Linked DNA regions of Homo sapiens: regions 1 and 3 are each linked to region 2. Evidence: promoter capture Hi-C in 16 types of primary human blood cells and fetal thymus (Javierre and others, 2016). All regions are on one chromosome and are shown on one strand. Each heading gives the region's core, a stretch centred on a gene start or on the middle of the fragment in contact. The rest is flanking DNA. Distances are from core to core; before and after follow the strand shown. Region 1 overlaps LOC105369896 (a long non-coding RNA gene). Region 2 holds the start of CLLU1 (chronic lymphocytic leukemia up-regulated 1). Region 3 overlaps LOC105369896 (a long non-coding RNA gene).

The links. The method cuts DNA at HindIII sites, captures the fragments that hold promoters and counts their contacts. A CHiCAGO score of 5 or more calls a contact.
Region 1: a fragment that was not itself captured here is called in contact with the fragment with the promoter of CLLU1 in region 2 in 2 of 17 cell types (fetal thymus and endothelial precursors); the score reaches 6.1 in fetal thymus.
Region 3: a contact is called between a fragment that was not itself captured here and the fragment with the promoter of CLLU1 in region 2, in 1 of 17 cell types (M2 macrophages). The highest score is 5.5, in M2 macrophages.

What each region holds. Positions count from the first base shown.
Region 1 is chr12:91,397,584-91,401,640 of GRCh38, forward strand. It overlaps LOC105369896 (a long non-coding RNA gene), which reads right to left. Exons shown (of 9, transcript XR_001749251.2): 3 at 1,526-1,796; 4 at 131-1,254. Among named protein-coding and RNA genes, the nearest start is that of LINC02823, 73 kb to the left of the region's middle. The HindIII fragment of the contact is 598 bases long and covers 1,903-2,500 here.
Region 2 is chr12:92,419,765-92,423,684 of GRCh38, forward strand. It overlaps CLLU1 (chronic lymphocytic leukemia up-regulated 1), which reads left to right and starts at 1,767. Exons shown (of 2, transcript NR_027933.1): 1 at 1,767-2,071. It overlaps CLLU1-AS1 (CLLU1 antisense RNA 1), which reads right to left. Exons shown (of 3, transcript NR_144319.2): 2 at 1,250-1,409; 3 at 322-696. The HindIII fragment of the contact is 1,184 bases long and covers 654-1,837 here.
Region 3 is chr12:91,377,080-91,380,970 of GRCh38, forward strand. All of the region lies in intron 4 of LOC105369896 (a long non-coding RNA gene), which reads right to left. Among named protein-coding and RNA genes, the nearest start is that of LINC02823, 52 kb to the left of the region's middle. RefSeq lists an enhancer at 3,813-3,891. The HindIII fragment of the contact is 2,179 bases long and covers 1,323-3,501 here.

The DNA of each region.
Region 1 (4,057 bases), core at 952-3,451, 1.0 Mb before region 2:
CCCTGGTGAGCAAGTACTCTGTTTTAGTCTATTTTGTGCTGTTATAACAGAATAACTGAGACTGGGTAATTTACAGGAAACATATTTCATACATTTTTGGAGGCTAGGAAGTTCAAGATCGAGGGCTTACCTCTGGTGATGGTCTTCTTCCTGTGTCATCCCATGGAGAAGGCAGAAGGGCAAGAGAGCACATGCAAAACAGAGGGAAGGAAGTAAAATTCATCTTTTTATCAGAAACTCATTCCTGCAATAATGGTACTAATGCATTAATGAGGACAGAGTCTTGTTAACAAGACTACTGAAAAAGAAGTATCAGATTTAAAGAGGCTTTATTTCCACAAGCGGTTTGTGAACGGGGGATACACAGCCTTCAATACAAAACAAAGATGTGTTCTACCAGAACAAAGACAGGGGTTGTCCTTTATAGAAAAAGTTCCTGCTGAGGTTCCCACTATGCTATGCTGTGCAAATGAGGGATGCAAGCTTGCTTAGTTTCAGCTGGTTGAGGTTAAGTTTCACTGTGGGTCACAGGCTATTGGTTAGATCAAAGTGATGGTAACCATTGGCTCAGGAGTATAAACAGAAATAGGCAGATATGAGAATCTCACAGTTATACCAATATGTGGTTTTTCCAAGAATGAAGAGTGCATGTGTAATGTCTGGTCAGCAAATGGAACTCAGCTCCCGTTTGAATTTAGGCCCAGTTAGCCACTCAGGTTCCATCTTAAAGGATTGGCTCTTTCAGGGTTCACAGCCCTCATGATCTAACTACTTTTTAAAGTTCTCACCTCTCAACACTGTTGCACTGGGACTTAAGTTTCCAACATATGAATTTTGAAGGATACATTCAAACCACGGCATACTCAAACATCCAATCTCATGGATACTATTCTGAATCCTGAAAGCACATACTAGCTAATTATTGAACTTAATGAAATGATTATCTCTTTTCTTACTTATCAGTCCCAGTATGTTTTTATCCCTCAGCTGGGTTATGCTGGAATTTAGCCATGATTTTTAGCCTAGAAGCCTAGAGAAAAAGTGGGAGTAATTCCTGATAAACATACCATTTATCTTATGTGAAAGTGGCCTCTGAAGTATCTTCTTGCATGAGAAAATGTCTAGCTCTTCATAGAGAATGGTGGGTCAATTCTTTAGGCTCTCAAGTTGTAGATCCTTGGGGAAATTTACCCAGATGTCCTCTTCCAATATTTTAATGCCTCAAGTTTTCCCAAGCAGATCTCTGACCTTAGCCTAAGAAAATTCCTCTATGAGCATCCAATCATCTTTGCAGCTCAGTGGCCCTAAACAGCAGATCCTGAATTTCCTCTCCAGCTATGGCCACTCTCTCTCTTTGCAAAAGATAAAAACACTTTATAGGCTGCCCAAGATGCCTTCTGGCTTTTACACTTACATTTGGGCTTTTGTTAACAATGCTCAATTTTTCATCATCCCACAAATGCAACGTATTCAATTTTCATTGTCCCACAAATGCAACTTAGTAATAATTAGTCAATTTCATTACCTTTCTATGTTTCTCACGCTGGATTTTTCAAATGCATGAATATTGTCCTGGTTAGGACATTCACCTGCAACATGACATTCTCCAAAGTCACCATTGATGAAATTTTTACCAATTGAACTACTGTCTTGTGCCAAAAAATATTCATATCCCACATCCACTTGAAAGGAATCCTTATTTTCTGGTTGGTGGCAAATGATCCACTTGCATAACTCCAACTTAATCACTGATATCACAGATTGTGTCCAGTATCAATTAATGTCACTTGGTTTTTCTAGAAAGGGAAAGCCAAGATTGAGTTAGAAGTGCAAAAAAAAAATTATTGGAGAATAATACCTTTTAAACATGTAAAGGCAAAGAAGGCAGGAACATCCAAAGGAAGCTTTCACACTGTAGTAAAGGCCTGGCTCCTATGAAAGGTGAGAAGGAAGCCAGAAGATTGGATAGGATGAGCCTCACACAGCACTGCAGCTCTGACAAAATCCCAGCCAACATGATGGGGATCTCCTTTAGGAGGACTGCTCTTTGAGGAGTCCTGTGCCTGAAAATTGAGGTTCTGTTGTACCCCTGCCATACTCATTGGCTGAAAAATGTCTGGGTATCATAAGGTCTTGGTTCAAATTTGAGGCATACTTGCACCTGGAGGCTGTTATCTAATTTGTCTTCCTTTTGACAGGTTTTCTCTTGAAGGTAGATCTGAGCCAAATACCTCCATGACTGCCCTAAAGACGTCTGACTGATAAGAGTCATGGCAATAATTTGTTCAAACAGCTAAACCTTTCAGCAAAATACAAAATAACTCCAAAAGTATGAAATTAAAGAAACCATCAATACCCATTTTGTAATAAACTTCTCACAATTTTTTGCTTTTCTCACTCTTCCTCTATTATTATCTTTTTATCCTTTATCTTATTATCTTCCAGTTTTATCTTATTTTGACAAAAAAGTTTCTTGCATCTTTATATTTTCTTGAAATAAAGCTTGTCATTATATTTCTTTTCTTTTCATAGCTGTGATATTGTTTTTATGTAAAATCTATGTTTCTATTTATTTTTTCTAATGAGAAAAACCTAATTGCCAGTATTAAGAAAGGTTTCTAACACATACACAAACACACACGCATGTACACATTTAACTTTTGCAAACACATGCACAACTTCTAACTTCTGCAAATGAATTATGAGGAATAAAATACATATACTCTTTGATGTCTTACGTCAAGAAGCTCACATTCAGCTAATCATAGTGCAGAATTAGGTTCCCTTTTCTCACCCTGGCTCCCTTCTATCTCCTGCTATCACAAAAATAACATTACGCTTGTGGAAGATAAAGACAGCATCCTCTTTCCAGTTTCCTTTTACTTCCTGCTAAGAGAGATTAGTTTATCAGGATGTGAGGATGTTGATCTTCACGAAAGCTACTCTGTTGCCTAATAAGGTAAAGTTTTCTCATCCATATTACTAGCTGGCTTCCTGCTTCTCCATAATAATAAATAATTTTGTGCGGCATGAAAAAAATGTTTTTTCAATTGTTACTAGAGCAAGCATTCCAATCAGTAAGTACAGTACATGACAAGGAGAATATCTCATCAAAATTCCTACCTATACATTTTATCTTAAGTATAAATCTAAAGTAATCTCATCATAACATTTGAAAACACATTGAATCAAAATTTCTTAAAGATTTTCAAGAAGGGAATCTCAAGTATGTGTTTTTTCTTTTCAAATGCACATTCAAAAAATACTTCTGGATGTATAATGTTATTTTAGGGGCCTGACTTGCTTTCTAACAAAATGATGGTTTTACCATTTGGTCTCAAATCATGAAATAAATTTACTTATATAATCATATATTTGTTTAGGTCTTTAGTATTATATGCCAAACACTGAGCTAAATACTCTAACACTTACATATCAGAAATATTAACTGGATCTATGACTCTAAATATGTAGAAGATGACACTCATTTTCTGAGAGAGAAAAAAATAAAAGCTGCAGATGCTCTAGAATAAAAATGAACAATTAATTTTGTAGTAAGCAGGTAGCTATCATATGTGGTGGTTATGAAAAATACAAAATGTGGAAGATATAGCCCCATTCCACTTTATTTTATGAGTTTGACTTTGCACCTTTGCTTTCCATATCTCATATTGAACAATTTAATGGGTACAGCCAGCCACTCCTCTTGTTTTTCACCCTGCCCCAAAACTGGCTCTTCTAAAATAGAACTAGTCTGACTAATACACTTTAGTTGGAAATGTGTGCAATTATATTGGTTTTCCTAATTTGACTGTGGCCTTGGAACACTGTGTGACAAAAGACTATTCACAGGGAACACACCCTCCCTTTGAAATATGAAATATACTTCCTCCATTAAAGAAGTAAGATGCTCAATAAAGTCAGTAGAATTTCACCAGACTCTTTTTCCCTTATACATATTATTCTTTGGCCAATTTTGCATGCAATCAAAGCTAGAGAAGACCCAAGTCTTAGGCCAAACTGTGAATGGGGATAGCAAGGAAAAAGTAAAATAATA
Region 2 (3,920 bases), core at 517-3,016:
TTCTTTTCCATTGAAAAAGAAACAGATAGTGGCTTGTATTAGGTTTCTTGTGTGTGTTGTGAGGTGGAAAGATATGAAAAGAAATTTGATCAGAGCATAAATCTGAGCCCATGGGATAGGAAAGAATGAGGGAATAAGGAAGAAAACACAGATTATAGACAGGAAAATCAAACCTATTAAAACTGATAATTTTCGAATACTAAAAATGTACATTCATTTGAACAAAAAGATTCTATAAAGCAAGATTTCTCTGTTCTTACCAGCACTACCATGCCCAAACTACCTTAGGAAATGAATAGCAGAGTCAAACTTAAAAGCACCTGAAATTTAAAACAAAAACCAATTTACATTTTATTTAAGAAAAGCAAACAGATGGGCCTGCTAACAATGTCAAAGTCTCGTTTACAAAGAAAAAAACAAATCTGGAACCTGAAGTCAAACGAGTTCAAAATAAAAAGCAAACCAATAAACAGAAACCAACATAAACAGAAGTTACTACCATCTCCCTCAGCCTGTGAAATTCTGGAACTTCTCTTTCTTTCTCGCCTTCTTCTTCTCTCACCTGGAAGACGAGCAGAGTGAACACATCAGGGGTTGTCAGTTCCCCAGATGGCACCACATTCATAAACCACCGACTCCAGGAGAATGTAGGAAGCTTAGTTAAGGCCAAAGTTCTCTTTGGATCTTCCTCATGGGCTTCAAGGCAAAAGAAAAAAAAGTTTGCTTGAGAATATCTTCATATCTATTAGTTTGAACCATGCAAAATTACAGTTTTTATAGGTAAAATGAGTGCATATTGGCAATTTCAAATGATTAACCCTAATACATTATGCTTTTGGGTATAGAAATATTCAGATCTTAAACATATGCTGTTACATACAAAATCAGGTATATTCCTGCTTCTATAATTAAAGCAAAGAGAATTTCTTTTGGTCACTACTCCTTCTGACATGAGGTATGAACCAAGTTCAGGACCCCTAAAGGTCTGGGTCTGGGTCATTTCTCCACCTCTAACTTGTGCCGCTTTCTTGGTCAGTCATTGTGTTCTGAGCTGTCTCATAAAACATCTGCTATGACTTTACTTTCTCCTGATAGGGTGGCTTTCCATCGTTGGCACTTCGTTGGCCTTATTGGTATGCTTTATACACTGGTTCTCGTTTCCAAATTGGCATTATTATTGTTATGATTCCTGCTGCTCTCCCACATTTCCCATCTTTCTCCTGATCTCTCTCACCTGTACATTTCTTACATTTTCTCCTGTGCTTCCTTCTTCCCATCATCATTGCCCAAGTGTGTCTTCTTTCTTCTCCTTGTCACATTTCCTTTGCCCGCTCTCACATATGCAGAGATGGCTCTTGGTTTTCCTTCTGAAATCTCATAGTTTGGAGGTAAACTTGTTAGCAAGGCCACTGAGAAGAGAACAAAAGGGAAACATAAGAGAAACCAAGTCACTATCTCTCTCATTTCCTGGTTTCTAGAAGTAAGACCCAAAGAACTCACTGTTTCAGTGCTTTCAGCTCAGGCCAAACTAGGGTGATCAAACTGAGCTTCTGAGTGCTGATCAAAACCTATAAAACCAAGTAGACAGACCATCTACAAATCTTCACTGTTAAATACCATAAAGAATGAAAAGGTCACTAATTGGTAAGACTATATGTGTGATAATTAAATTTATGCATCAACCTGGCTAGGCTAAAGGATGACCAGGTAGCTGGTAAAACATTATTCTGGGTGTGTCCATAAGAGTGTTTTCGGAAGAGATCAGCATTTGAATTGGTGAACTTAGTAAAGCAGACGGCTCTCACCAATAAGGGCAGGCATCATCCAATCTGTCGAAAGCTTGAATAAAACAAAAAGAGGAAGGGAAAATTTGCTTCTTTTCTTCTTGATCTAGTATATCATCTTCTCCTGCCCTTGGATGTGAGTGGGCCTTCAGACTTAAACCAGGAGTTACACCTTTGGCTTCCCTGGTTCTCAGTTCTTTGGACTTGGACTGAATTACACTGCCAGGTTTCCTGGTTCTCCAGCTTGCAGATGGCAGATCATGGGACTTCTTGGCCTCCATAATTGTGTGAGTCAATTTCCATTTTATTTACATATCCAGTTATGCATTGCTTAACAATGGAGACAGGTTCTGAGAAATGCATTGTTAAGTGATTTCATCATTGTGCAAACATCATAGAGTGTAACTACACAAACCTGGACAGCATAGACTACTACACATCTAGGCTACATGGTGTAGCTTGTAACCTCATGATAAGTATGTATAACATCATGATAAGTATGTATGTATCTACCATATCTAAATGTAGAAAAGGTACAGTAAAAATATGGTATAATCTTATGGGATCACCATCATATATGCAATCCTTTGTAGACTGAAATGTCATTGTGTAGTGCATGACTGTATACGCACACATACACAAACACACACAAATATACTATTGGTTCTTTTTCTCTGAAGAGCCCTAATACAATATGTTATACATTTATATTGACTCTATTTCAAAATTTATGGTTTTGGTGAAACATATGTGGAGATGGGGCATAGGTGTGTGAACTGGGATAGTGTCCTGCTGATGAATGGGTGGGAGGCATCATTTGGGACAAGCCCAGGGCATCAGCTTATAGATATCAAGAGCTCAACAAGAGCACTTTATGGCAAAACCTCCCACAAGACCTCTCAGAAGTTGAGAAACTGCTAAAAGTTTCTTTATGACAGATGACATTTATGGATAAAATAGGGATTAGCAGGATTCTTTAAATACTTTCGAACACTAACCTTCATTTCTACCAGGCAGTGGGGCCCCAAGTGCAGGGCCATAGGAAGTACAAGTCTGGGAGATACTAGGCTGCACTGTCTGTAGAGAATCTGAAAAAATAATAGAGTCACTGAAATGCAGTTTGGTATAATTATTGCCATGCATCATAATTCTAAATCATACTAGTGGTCAAATACTCTTCCCTGAAAAAACATTTTCTTGGTTTGAATTCTAAATAATTGTTGTGGTCACCACTGAGCTTTTAAATATATAAATACTTTCAAGTTTGCATATTTTTATTACCTGTTCCTTAACAAACATTGAATTCAACATGAAAATGATTATGGGAAACATTCGGGTATACAGTCCCTGACTCTTAAGGACTCAGGTAAATACTTAGGGTATTTCATGGCCCTAGTCTTTGGGGTACCACATGTTTCTTCTTCAAATCACAGATTCAAAATCAAGAATGATAACACAGTGATTGTGTAGACAAAATAAGTGAACCAAAATTGCTTGCTTCTGTCATTCTATGGAACCACTGAGAGTTTTTACTTGTGCTTAAAATTTTGAATAGTAAAACAGAGTGTCAACTTCATGCTGGAATATTTTTGGCTTTTTAGACACAATTTTAAGTACATGAAGTATTTTTACAAGACTAAGTAACATCACTGAAATTACAGCTTTCTTCTTTTTAAAACTGGTATTTGTTATAAAACTAAAGAGCGAATCAAGAAAAGCATAATTATTACTGATTATTACAGGATTATTACTGAAAAAGAAATGTACGGAATAGAGGAGGAAGGAGTTAACAAATGATCCACTCTGGGTGTTGAAAACACCAATAAGCCTGCTTCCAGGAAGTGCCTAAGACAGAGCTGGCTCAGCTTGCTGGGTCACAGCATGTAAGGAAACTGCTGGGCTACATGCCACCATCCTCAGTTGTCCAGATAGATAATCCCATAGCCCCATGGGGAAATAATCTTTAATTATGATATAGCTGACACCATTCAAAGCACTATGCTAAGTCCTTTATGTGAATTAACTTTTGTCAAATTTATTTTTCATAAATAACCCAAATATGTATACCACTATTATCCTACCTTAAAGAGGAGAAACTGAGCTCCTAAAGTTTAAATATCTAACCCAAGTTAAGAC
Region 3 (3,891 bases), core at 1,162-3,661, 1.0 Mb before region 2:
AACCACAGGGTGATGGGTCCTACAAAATACCCAATCAGCTATTTTATTATTTTAACCAAAGGAAGTATAACATTGACATTGCAGTAAGTAAAGGATAGTACAAAACTAGACCCTGACATGGACATCAGTACTTACAGCCAAATTGGAAAACCAGCTGATTAACAAAGGACTTTTCTGAAACAAACCAAGTCATTATGCACCAAGGCAAACTACAGTGGTCATTTTAAAAACTACAGTCGACTTTTAAAGACTCCACAGAAGGCCAGAGGTGTTCCAATAGCCGCTTACCCTCCCCCCACCAAAAAAAGGGTAAGGGATTTTCGCAGCATTTTTTTCTAATAGTCCTGTATTTAAAATGGATGTTTAAAAGCATTCGTTTGTCATTCTGTCAGTTGTAAGCAACAAATCATTCTCACTGAGAAATTACAGAGGCTTTCAAGATGCATGAAAGAGAAAAGAGTTGCCACTGGAAGGAGAGGGCAGCTGTAAATAAGACCCCTTAGGCATGCAGCTGTAATGAGGACTATTCACAGTGCCACTTCATGCCTTTGCTTTCTGCTCACTTATTCCGGACATATTGCTTAAGAGCTCTGTAATCTTTGGGGTTTGAAAAATTTATAGTTATGTGACCAACACCCAGCCCCACCTCCTTCTGGATTGTTCTACATCTAACTATACTACAGATTTTCACATGATGAATGATCTTGGATGCCAATGAAAAGGAATAGTTCACTCGGATCTATAGATTCCCTTACTTTGCTAAAATAATATGCTTCTACATCAAGTTTCAAAATGGTTTGCATTTTTTTGCCCTACCTATGTTTTCCCTCAGCTTCTTTCCATATTTTTCCTTAGTGGAAAATCTATAATAATAGGTTCTGCTGTTTTATTAAAAATATAAGGGATATTTGGATTGTGTTATTTTATTCTGAGGTCTATTATTACACTTTCCAGTATTTCCTTTTGAAAACATAATTAAGTTTATTCTTATAATATAATGTAAATACAATTATTTTCTCATTTGGGGAATATATTTTAGAGTGGCTATTAGCAGTATACAATATTACTTTTATTTGTTTATAAAAGCCAGAGGAATTAAGACAGTACAAATTCCACGTTCCATTTTTAATCTTCATAGTTCTTTGTAGGTTTAGCCACATTTTCCTTCCTTATTTATTTCATAATTTGAAAAACCATAATGACATCTACTTGATCTTGAATTGCAATAAAATTTTCATTTTTGTCATAGCATTTACCTCATTTTAGATAAAATTTGACTTAGATGGTTTGGTTTTAAATTGTTGCTGTTGTTTTCATTTGTAAGCTTCATGGTAGCCTGTACACTAAAAATTACAAATATCACTTGTCCTTGCACAAAGTTACCCTCTAATTTAAATATTTTCCCTCAAACTTCCCCTTATTCTGACTTGGGATATCCTCATGTCATTAAAGATTTTGATTTCCTAAAAGGTCCTCAAAATTTTGTAGAAAAGCACTTTATTCATTACTAACCTAGTATATACACATATGATTCTAATTTTCTTCCCATGTTTTAAGGCTTTTATAGTAATATTACACAAATGGTCTGCCTAACAGCCAATCATTTCCAAGATAAAAATGGGCCAAGAGACAAATGACAGGCAATTATTAAGCCTTTTAAGGAGAAACTGTTAAGCCTAGAAGAATATTGATACAAACTGACTTTCTGCACAGTGGACTCAACAAAGCTAACATAATTCACACCAGAGATTCTCTATGGGACCATAAATTAATCAGATTGAAAAGATGGCAACCCAGAAACACAATAAATTGTTCTATGGCATAGTAAGGCACCCTCCACATTCTTATTTTCAATGGCACAATAAGACACATACACACACACCTGACAAAGAATGAATAATTTTGGAAAAAGCTGCCATGTTTTCAGTTTAATCTAAAGACAGAGAGAGAAAGAGGAGGAGGAGGAGGATCCTATATTCACTCCTAACTGCAAGTTTGGAAGAGGTATGAGGAATTTGGGAGTGAGGCAAAGAGGCCACAATGTAAGGGAGAATTGAAATACAACTCGAAAGCCTGGCATCCATGAGGTGAGAGGAGAGCAGGAGATGCCAGAGTTACCCATTACTGACTTGGCTTACTTTACAGAACACAGGAAACTGTTGCTTCTAAGAAAATATCTATTTCATCATAAAAGAATTACAGCTCTTTTGTACATATGAATTTAGCCTGTTTTAATTTTGCCTGGCATTTTGGCTTTGCAAATCTTTAGGTATGAGTGCTAAAGTGTTATTCCAACCATTTCACTCTTTCCCAGTGAATGTTAGAACAATCACCTTTCGGTTAATAAACATGCAGTTTTTTACAACTACTATCACAAGTAACAGTTTAGTGTGTAGAAAGAATCAATGGTAAATTTTGGTGTTTCCAGTAGCTCAATATCTCATTTATCCTTTAGGTATCTGGCAAGCTGTCTTTCCCTTTTCTGGTCACCACTCCTCTGGGGATGTAGCCAAGTACAAAATTGCACATTTCTCCTCCCACAAGTGTCTCAGCTCCCACAGAAAACAAAATCTACATCAAGCATGTTTAAGATGATCTACATGTGAAGTAGAAAGGTTAACACACAAGAGGAGTAACAGACTCATTTATTTATTTATTTTTACCTTCAAGGAGTTTAAATACAAACACAGAGAGAAAACTGAAAATAAGCATGATTCTAGAATTTGTATTATTGTTATATATATATTTTTTAAGTAGATAAGCATAAAACTAAGGAATTGCTCAGATGACCAAGTCTGGAGCAAAAACATCTGACACAGGAAAGTGAGAAAATAAAATGGGGGCCTTGAGTAGAAAAATTTCAATGGGTTAATTTCTGCTGGCGTTCAACATGTTATGCCATAGCAAACAAATAAGAATCATGCTGGGTCTCAATTTATCAGATTCCTTTAATTTACTAAGACTGCATATTAAACTAAATTGTTAGCAGCTGGTTGACTACCTCAACCTAACTCAACTCCTGGGAGCAATTACAGAGCTTCTCAAAATCTGTCCCTGTGTGCATCAAATTGATGTTGGAAAGAAAAAGATACCTCTTTCTAAAGTACTTTATTTCAGCCTTTCAAATTCACCTTCTGAAACCTAGGTGACATTCCTTCTAAACACTGTATACGGTATTGCTTAAGACAAGGAAAGTTTTCCCCCAAAACTATTTGTGCTCCCTTCACTCTGGTAGAATTTTTGGTAAGTTCTTTGGCCTATGCCCACCATATACTAGGCCGCCCTTGCTCACAGAAGGCCACAGCAAACCCCTTCTGCAAGCCCACGATGGAATCGTAAATCTTTACAACTTATTGAAGTCTTCCAGATTTTTAAATATGCCCATGATCCAGACTTTTTGCTTGCATGTTTAAATGGTTGCCTGATGGCTTGCAACAAGAAGTAGAAAGGCATTTTTCTTAAAATAAGCAAACAACCATGGCAAATGAGGTCATATTCCCAAGCTTGAATAATAAATATTGCTAAAATCTACAACCTGAAACATATTTTAAGAATTAGACATAGATTTGGGTTTTTTCTTTCTTTTTCAGGAAGGGGTCTCCCTTGCTGCCAATAAAAATTGCTTTGTGTTGTAAAATTTGGGTTCAGCTTGTCTCCTCCTTATATAAGCCCAGTTGAATAGACTGCTGAGGGAAAATCAAAGTTTAAGAGCCTGGCTTTTCCCGTTTGGCAACTTTCATTTCCTGATAATATCGGATAATTAACAAATTGTGTGTTTTAATGCCCTGTCTCTTGAAGCGCATTTGGGAAAAATACTTCTTGTGCCCTCTGAGTAATGGCTTAAATGGAAGAACATGCTCAAAAGAATGCTTTTTCTCAATGCATGAAACA